3 separate regions of the Homo sapiens genome follow, and regions 1 and 3 are each linked to region 2. Evidence: promoter capture Hi-C in 16 types of primary human blood cells and fetal thymus (Javierre and others, 2016). All regions are on one chromosome and are shown on one strand. Each heading gives the region's core, a stretch centred on a gene start or on the middle of the fragment in contact. The rest is flanking DNA. Distances are from core to core; before and after follow the strand shown.

Region 1 (3,111 bases), core at 511-3,010, about 22 Mb after region 2:
GGAATGGTGGAAAGATACTGAAAAGGCTGTGGACTCAGTGACCTGACAAGCTGTTATCCTGTATTTGTGGTGCCTAACATTGGTCATAGTTTTGTACTTACTCTTGAGGAAATATACATGATCCTGTCTGAATTTGGCTATGTATCTTTTAAACCTAGTGATTCAACTCACAGTAATATTAATATTGTGTCAAGTCTTTTACACTGTGTCATTTGTAGACACCATCTGGGAATTGCCATCTGGGACACGAGATCTTGGCTTTTCTACAGAAGTCGTGTCTTTGGGTTGGCCGCACCATATGTTATCACTGTGTGAGCTGAAAGTAACCATTTGGTATGATGCAGCTAACATTCTGGTTACGTGTACCACCTCCCTTCAGTCACTTTAAAAGGTGATTATCTGTTTCTAACCTGATTCAATAAGTTTTCTTCTCTGGTTTTCCTTTTTAATCCATTCAGCCTCCTTTGGAAAATCTGGCAACTGTGGAAGAGACTGTTGTTCGTGACAAGGCTGTGGAGTCCCTGAGACAGATCTCCCAGGAGCATACTCCTGTTGCTCTGGAAGCTTATTTTGTACCTCTGGTGAAACGCTTAGCAAGTGGGGATTGGTTCACCTCTCGCACATCTGCATGTGGTTTGTTCAGCGTTTGCTATCCCAGGGCATCAAATGCTGTTAAAGCAGAAATCAGACAGTAAGCCATGGTATTTTTTTGCCTTGTTAAAGCAGAAATCAGGTAGTAAGCTATGAGTTATTTGGGATTACTGGGGACTTGTAGCTGACAATTTACATAGTACCTTGTTACCAATGAGTGGCTGATACTAGGATAGTAGGATTTATGACATCTTTCTTTTTTTTTTTTAAGAGATAAGGTCTTGCTCTGTTGTCTAGGCTGGAGTGCGGTGGCACAATCATAGCTCACTGCAACCTTGAACTCTTGTGCTTAAGTGATCCTCCAGCCTCAGCCTCCAAGTAGCTAGGACTACCGACATACACTACTGCGCCTGGCTAATTTTTAAAAAAAATTTCTGGCTGGATGCAGTGGCTCATGCTTGTAATCCCAGCACTTTGAGAGGCTGAGGTGGGAGGATTGCTTGAACTCAGGAGTTCAAGACCAGCTTGAGCAACATAGTGAGACCTTGTCTCTACTAAAAAGAAAAAAATTAGCTGGGCATGGTGGGACCCGCCTGTATTTCTAGCTACTCAGAAGGCTGAGGTGGGAGTTCACTTGAGCCCCCGACAAACAACAACAAAAATATTTTTGGCATATAGATAGGGTCTTGCTATGTTGCCCAGTCTGCTTTCAATTCCTGGCCTCAAGCAGTCCTCCTACCTGGGCCTCCCAAAGTGCTTTGATTACAGGTGTGAGGCACCATGCCTGGCCTATGATGTCATTTTTTATTATCCAGTTGAATATGTTTTATTTTTGTTACTTCTATAAGTAGAAGCTTAGTCACTGATTATTGTAAGATAAAACCTCTAAAAGTCTGTCTGTGTGTATGGGGGGCAGGTTTATTCAGTGTTATTTGATGGGAAATACCTTCATTGTTTTATGTTGCAGGCAATTCCGTTCCTTGTGCTCAGATGACACACCAATGGTACGACGTGCTGCTGCTTCCAAATTGGGTGAATTTGCAAAAGTTTTGGAATTAGACAGTGTGAAAAGTGAAATTGTTCCACTGTTCACTAGTCTAGCTTCAGATGAACAGGTAAACTAACTCTTAGTATTTAAGGGACACAGATATGCTCCTTTCCTCTAAATTTTCAGAATTTCTTTGGGGAGTTTTAGTTTTCTTGTTAGGATTCTTTTTACAGAATTAGTGCTGATTCTGGCCTGGTTAAAGTGTAACATGCTTATCTCAATGTTCTTATGTTTCTTTCTTAACCAGACCATGATTTCTCTCTTACATTAGCAGCTGTTAAAAGAGTGGGGAGTCAGAGAGGAAATGGGAGCCATAATTAGAAAGGAAGACCAAAGCTGCATGGAGGGTAACATACCTTTGGGAATTGCTGGCTGTATTGTAATATGAGGGAGTAATGTTTCCTGGAATTTTTGACTTTTCAGATAAATAAGCTTAGAATGTGTTAGGAAAGCTATTTGACTCTCTGCTTCTTCTATAGTAGTGTATGGGATTACTTCACATAATCGTATTCAATTCTGAAGATCTAGATCTCTTTGGTGTAGAAATAACAATAAAACTAGCAAACATCCAAATGAAGTACTTAATTTTTCTCTGCCTTTAAGTAGTTATGTGTATTAAGTAATTCAGTCCTTACAACAGCCCCATGAGATAGCCCATTTTACACATTAGAAAACAAAGGCACAGAAAGTTTAAGTAACTTGCTGAAGTTTGCATAGTTAGCAGTAGTGGAGTCAGAATTTGAATCTAGGTGGTTTGGCTCCAGAATTTGTGCCCTTCACAGCTAGGCTGTCCCGCTTCTCTGTAATGGTGCTTAATAGGATCAGCTCCCAGAGTTCCTGGACTCTAGAATAGTCCTTTTGGGCTTTTAATTTGCATGTTGCCTGCCCTAAGATCGCTTCATGTGTACAGGACCACAAGCCCCAGGACACATATTAATGAGTCTCATTTTCAGATCCTAAATCTAAAGATCTAAATCCTACTTTGAAAATAATTTTAAAAATTATTAGAATTTTTATTCTAATAATAAATGTACAAAATGAATGTATAACTTAATGAACTATTAGAAGGTAATACCAACTTGTTAACGATCACCTATGATAGGAGACATCACTTTGACAGCCACTATCCCAGAATCCCTCCATGGATTCCCTTTCAAACACAATCTCTCTTTCCTCCTCCACTTGCCACTCCATTTCCTTAAGAGTAACATTATCCTGACTTTTATGGTAAGCGCAGCCTTTGTTTTCTTTGCACTTTTTCTTTTCTTTTCTTTTCTTTTTTTAAAAGGAGTCTCACTCTGTCACCAGGCTGGAGTGCAGTGGTGCAATCTCGGCTTTCTGCAACCTCTGCCTCCCGGGTTCAAGCAATTCTCCTGCCTCAGCCTCCCAAGAAGCTAGGACTACAGGCGCATGCCACCACGCCAAGCTAACTTTTGTATTTTTAGTAGAGACGGGGTTTCACCATGTTGACC
Region 2 (3,030 bases), core at 178-2,677:
ATGAAATGGGAAAAGCCTTTGACTGCAGAGCCACTCAAGTGTAAGCAAGATGCAAACAATAACAAAACCCACCTCTAAATAATTCCTTATCTGCTTCGGTATCAACCAGGGTAATCTGGGTTATCAAATTCTAAGCGCTAGGCCAGGGCAGCACCTCTTGAATGAGTTTTAGGACATTCAGAAGAAAACAGTATTCTATGCCTTACTGTACTTTATAGATCTGATATCTAAGGGACTTATTCTGTTGTAAAGAAAACTGCCATTTATTTAAAATAAATTTAAAAATATTTCAGAAGAAAAAAGTGTTTATAAACATTCTTGGCAGAGAAGTCACAAACTGGCCGGGTCTCCACCACTCCTCGCTACATTCAAATTACTGTTCAGAGCCTAAAGACACTCAAGTTTGTCAGCTCTGGTAGAGTTTCCCACTGGCAATAATAATTATTTTTCCTGCATGAGTTTCAACACTAAAAGTGTCTTATAGCCAGAGGTGTTAAGATACCAAATCTTTGTGTGTGAGCAAATCTTGTATGACCTGGAGTTCTTGTGCAGTTGTCACCATCAGCACCCAGCCAGCTTCTTATATTCTCACTGCTTTTATGACCTACTGTTATGATTAAAAACCAACCAACCCAACAACAACCAAGCCCCAAGTTTCTTCACTTCTCTAAGCATCCGAGGGTGACCGGCCGCAGGAGGACCCGGGCCGGAGGGGAACCTGCGGGGGGATGACCGGCCGGAGGGGAACCTGCGGGGGGTGACCGGCCGGAGGAGGACCGGGGCGGGGGTGACCGGCCGGAGGAGGACCGGGGCGGGGGTGACCGGCCGGAGGAGGACCCGGGCAGGGGTGACGGGCCAGATGGGGACCCGGATGGTGGTGACCGACCGGAGGGGGCAGCCAGGCCGGGGGTGACCGGCCGGAGTAGGGAGCCAGGCCGGGGGGGTGACTGGCCGGAAGGGGAGCTGACGCCGGGGTGACTGGATGGAACGGGGAGACTGCAGCCCCTCGCGGACATATGTCCGCCGGGGTTCTGGACACCTGTCCTACTGCCCGCCAGGAGATCCTTACGGTCGATGCAGGAGGTCAAGCTCCGGTGGCCGGTCTGGACGAGGACCCGGAGACCGCCGGGCAGGCAGCCGAGGCGCGCCCCGAAACGCCGGCAGCCGCTCCACAGCATAGCCGCCGCAGCTCCGCGTTCAGCTAAGAGTCTGAACGCCTTCGACCTCCGTTGCGCTCGCACTGGCGGGACCTGCGACCCGGCAACGCCTGTCCCACTGCACCCTGGGGGTTGTAGTCCTCCCACGAGCCCTAACAACCCAGGTGCCAGGCGGGCTCCCAAGGGGACAGGACTACAATTCCCAGAAGTCCTCGGGGCCTCGGCGCCGCAGAGATGCACCGCCCACCAAGCGCCGCGGGGGTCGCGCTGCACAGCCTGCGGCGCAGCGGAGGCGGACCGCAGTCGAGTCTGCAGAGTGTTGGGTCTGTAGCCAGCAAATTACTTCATCATCTAGATTATCCATTCAGTTGATCCTAATTAGCAAGGATAACAAGGTAACACAAGGCTTACTTATATTCACCCAACAAAAGTGTCTCTGTGGAGCCACTTCCCAGTGAACTACATACTGAGATAGGGGTTCCTGGATGAGAAGGACCAAGGACAGAACCGAGAAGAGTTTAGGGGCAGGTTATGCGAGATGGAAATGGCGCAGATAACGGAGGGAAGGATTTGAGGGCTCAAACGTAGGCGTCTGTGTTTCGCAAAAGTTGGAGACGTTCTAGGCTGCCTCTCGTTGCCTCCATCTCGCTCTGCGCGGGTTTTGGAGGACATTAGCATTCTTTCTTGTATCTCCGTTGATTCCAGAATCGTCCGCACTAAAGTCCCCTGCAGCGTGACCATGTCGAGACCCCGGAAGAGGCTGGCTGGGACTTCTGGTTCAGGTGAGCTGCCCCTAGGCTGCACAAAGGCAGCCCAAGAAAAAACTTTTCTCGAAGAGCCTGTTTAGTACTCATTTTTCACTCCCTGCTTTTTGAGAACCCTTTGTGATATTTTTACTCCATTATCCTTAATCACTCTCCATCTTCTTTACTTGTCTCACCAAGCTCCTACCTACAGTTCCTTTTTCTTGTTTATTCAGGCAATGGTTGTTGTGCACAAAGACTCTTTGAGATACCAGGTGGCGTGCTAAAGAATATAAAGCGCCTGCTTGCGGGTGAACTGCAAACAGATGTGATGGGGTTCAGGAAAATGGATTGTTAAGTTTATGGAGGGAGGAATCACGGGGAAGGCCTCGAGAAGGATGTGGAATTTGAGCCCAGCCTTGAAGAATGGGAGACTTTCCACGGGCAAAGTTTAGTACTAAGAAAACGTGATGTCGTTTTTATAATCACAAAGATGGATGGCATTCTAAGTGGATGGAGGAGGAGGAACATTGGAAGGTACAGAAAGTACCTCTTTTGGGAATGACAGGGGTTCCAGATATACTACAGCACATTGCAGTTATTTATCAATATGTGGTGTTTGCAGTGGGCCTGTTAACTCCTAAGGGGCCATTAGGAAACTAGGTTAGGAAGGTATGCTGGGTTCAGAGCATTAGACAGCCATAAATGGTATTTAATGACAATTGATGTAGGGACTTTGACTAAATTCAGAGGCAGTATAGTCATTAAGTAGCTTCAGATAGACCTCAGTGACAGGTGCTGACCTCATATCTTGATTCCACCATTACTGGATGTGTGATCTGGAGCATGCTTCCCAGATGAAGAGTAGAACATCTCACAGGTTATGTAGATTAACCGAGTTAGGGTTAGGGTAACACATAGACCTTGGGCCCTGTCATATAGTAATTTAACAACTTAGCTACTGAATGCCTACTGTGTTCCAGGCACATTCTGATTGTCTTGGGATGAAATCGAATCATCACCATTTTTCTACAATGTCCTGAATGAACTGTTTCTTTCAACTTTTATTGGCACCTTCAAGGAGCAGAAAGGAGATGGGCCAGGAGCCACAGTGAGCAAGAAGGAAAGAC
Region 3 (3,060 bases), core at 81-2,580, about 20 Mb after region 2:
TCAGAACTTAACATAGCATTCTCTCAGTACTTACACAACTCCATGAAGTTTCTATGAGAAGGCTTATACTTGTTAAGTAATTCGTCCAAGGTCACCCAGTGAGGATATGGTACAGTTGGAATTGTATCTAGGCAGTTCTGACCCCAAGAGCCCAAGGCGCCCCTGGTCCTATCTCATAGTTGATGGGCCCATTGCCCTGGATCACAGACTTTCCACTACTCTTATAATGCCTTTTCTAGAACTCTCCTAATGTTTTAAACTTCCAGTCCTCCCTACAGTCTTTCTAAATAGATAATCTTCTTTTCTACTTGACTGAGCTCGCTGATGTCTAAAAAGAGCTCCCTGCCTTCTGTTTTGTCCCCCTCTCCCTACGCCATCTCATCTCTTTTCTCTTATTTCAGTGGAAAAGGTTCCCTTCCTTTTTCCCCCTTTCATTTCTTAGAGATAAACCTAGATTAATGGTTTTTACTAGGGAGAGATTTTGTAATCTAGGAAGCATTTGGCAATGTCTGGAGACTTTGATTGTGACTCTGGAGGGAGGATGCTACTGGAATGTAGTGCGTAGAAGCCGGGAATGCTGCTAAACATCCTGCAGTGTACAGGAGTAAGCCCCTCTAAACAGAGTTATGTGTAAATTGTATAAAATAGTGCTGAGCTTGACAAACTCTGATCTAGATGATGTCTCTCTTCTCTTTCTATTATGTCCCTTCTCCTTAGTCCTAGTCTAACCCCCAGACACCTTCACTGTCTTCTCCCTTGCTACTCACATTATGGTCCACAGACCAGCAGCATTCACATCCCCTAGGATTTAGACATGCAGAAAGTTGAGTGTGCTAGAGCCAGCTTGCTCTGCCTCTCCAGCTGATTTTGTACATCTCTTTCCAGCTCTGTGTTCAATGACCTCGTGTTGATAACTGTGCCAAGGTGGGAATATTTATACCAAGGAAACAAGCATACACTGCCAATCAGCATACCACTGCCTGTACCCCCACTCTAGACCTATTCAATCAGTTTCTGCCTTTTGACAAGATTCTTGGGTGATTCATTTGCATATTACATTTTGAATTTGCATTTTCCATTTTACCGTGCACTTGTCCTCTATCTTGAAACCAAATAACAACAACAAAAGTGTCTATTGCCCAGTCCAGCTGTTGTCTCCACCTTCCTCCTCTTGTTTGCTTTTGGAACAAAGTTTCTAACCCCACCTGTTTCATTTCTAAAACATTTTTCCAGTGACAATGTATTCAGACTCAATATACAAAACTTGGAAAAGACAGACTTGAGCAAGACTAACTCTTAGCTGACAGGAGATTGAGGAAGGTTGGTTCCCAGATTCTGCTACAGAGCTTAAGGTGGCAATAACAGCTTCTGCAAAAGCCAAATAATGAGATGGCCGTGTGGACCAGTCTGGGCTCCAGCAAATGGCTGATTGTTCAGAGGCCTGCAGAGGGACTGACTAGGCAGCAGCAGGTTAGGTTGAAAGGCAGTGAGTGGTTTTATGTAATCAGAATCTGCTCAGCAGCCTACTTTGCCAAGGCAGGATCTCTCCCTCTGTCACCCAGACTGGGGTGCAGCGATGTGATTATAGCTCACTTTGGCCTTGACCTCCTAGGCTCAAGCGATCCTCCCACCTCAGCCTCCTGAGTAGCTGGGACCACAGGCGTGCATCACCGCACTTGGCTGTTTTTTTAATTTTTTATAGAGACGAGGTCTTGCTATGTTGCCCAGGCTGGTCTTGAACTCCTGGGCTCAAGCAGTCCTCCTGCCTTGGCCTCCCAAAGTGTTGGGATTACAGGCATGAGCCACCACACCTGGCCCCCTCATACTTTTATTATTTTATGCTTTTATGATCCCTCATTACCACTTTTTTGCTGTTACTTTTTTCTTGTTTTGTTTTTTGAGACGGAGTTTCGCTCTTGTTGCCCAGGGTGGAGTGCATTGGCACGATCTTGGCTCACTGCATCCTCCGCCTCCTGGGTTCAAGTGATTCTCCTGCCTCAGCCTCCCGAGTGGCTGGGATTACAGGCATGCACCACCATGCCCAGCTAATTTTGTATTTTTAGTAGAGACAGGGTTTCTCCATGTTTGTCAGGTTGGTCTTGAACTCCTGACCCCAGGTGATCTGCCCACCTCAGCCTCCCAAAGTGCTGGGATTACAGGCGTGAACACCTGGCTCCAAATCTACATTTCTAATCCTGAGTTGCAAATGACTTCTATACTCTGTTTCCCAGTGCTTTTTGAACAGGTCTGCTTGAATATCAACCTCCTTGGCTATAAACGTTTGCTTCATACTTATTTTCCCAGGGTTGTTATACTAGGCATGGGAATGTACACTTGTATTACTCGTGTCTGCCATATGCTATGTACCACCCTAAGCACTTTTCCATACATTTTTATTTACAAAAACCCAGCAAGGTGTGAACTATTACCCTATTACTGATGAGGAAACTGAGATGTCTTGTTTGTTTTTTGAGATAGGGTTTCACTCTGTCACCCAAGCTGGAGTGTGGTGACACCGTCAAGGCTCACTGCAGCCTTGACCACCCAGACCCAAGCAATCCTCAGACACTTGAGTAGCTGGGACCACAGGTATGCACCACCACACCTGGCTACTTTTGTTTTATTTTATTTTTTGAGACGGACCGCAGTCTGTTGCCCAGGATGGAGTACAGTGGCGTGAGATCAGCTCACTGTAACCCCCGCCTTCCGGGTTCTATTGATTCTTCTGCCTCTGCCTCCCAAGTAGCTGGGATTACAGGCACATGCCACCACGCCTAATTTTTGTATTTTTAGTAGAGACGGGGTTTCACCATGTTGGCCAGGCTGGTCTTGAACACCTGACCTCCGGTGATCCGTCTGCCTTGGCCTCCCAAAGTGCTGGGATTATAGGCGTGAGCCACCGAACCCAGCCTGTGGTTAATTTTAAAAGTTTTTTTAGCAATGGGGTCTCTCTGTGTTGCCCAGGCTGGTCTCAAACTTATGAACCAAGTCATCCTGCCTCAGCCTCCAAAAGTGCTGGGATTACAGGCATGAGCCACCGTGCCTGACCTCAGATGTTAG

What was found. Contacts are between HindIII fragments. The CHiCAGO score rates a contact against its expected background, and 5 or more counts as called.
Region 1: a contact is called between a fragment that was not itself captured here and the fragment with the promoter of THYN1 in region 2, in 1 of 17 cell types (neutrophils). The highest score is 6.1, in neutrophils.
Region 3: a contact is called between a fragment that was not itself captured here and the fragment with the promoter of THYN1 in region 2, in 1 of 17 cell types (neutrophils). The highest score is 5.6, in neutrophils.

The regions. Positions count from the first base shown.
Region 1 is chr11:111,758,399-111,761,509 of GRCh38, reverse strand. It overlaps PPP2R1B (protein phosphatase 2 scaffold subunit Abeta), which reads left to right. Exons shown (of 15, transcript NM_002716.5): 4 at 459-691; 5 at 1,559-1,706. Among named protein-coding and RNA genes, the nearest start is that of PPP2R1B, 6.4 kb to the left of the region's middle. The HindIII fragment of the contact is 626 bases long and covers 1,448-2,073 here.
Region 2 is chr11:134,251,749-134,254,778 of GRCh38, reverse strand. It overlaps THYN1 (thymocyte nuclear protein 1), which reads left to right and starts at 1,427. Exons shown (of 7, transcript NM_014174.3): 1 at 1,427-1,939. The coding sequence starts at 1,897. It overlaps ACAD8 (acyl-CoA dehydrogenase family member 8), which reads right to left and starts at 1,211. Exons shown (of 11, transcript NM_014384.3): 1 at 1,070-1,211. The coding sequence starts at 1,178. RefSeq lists an enhancer at 1,297-1,666. The HindIII fragment of the contact is 5,608 bases long and covers 1-3,030 here.
Region 3 is chr11:113,869,002-113,872,061 of GRCh38, reverse strand. The region is part of intron 1 of USP28 (ubiquitin specific peptidase 28); the gene reads left to right. Among named protein-coding and RNA genes, the nearest start is that of USP28, 5.0 kb to the left of the region's middle. The HindIII fragment of the contact is 5,153 bases long and covers 1-3,060 here.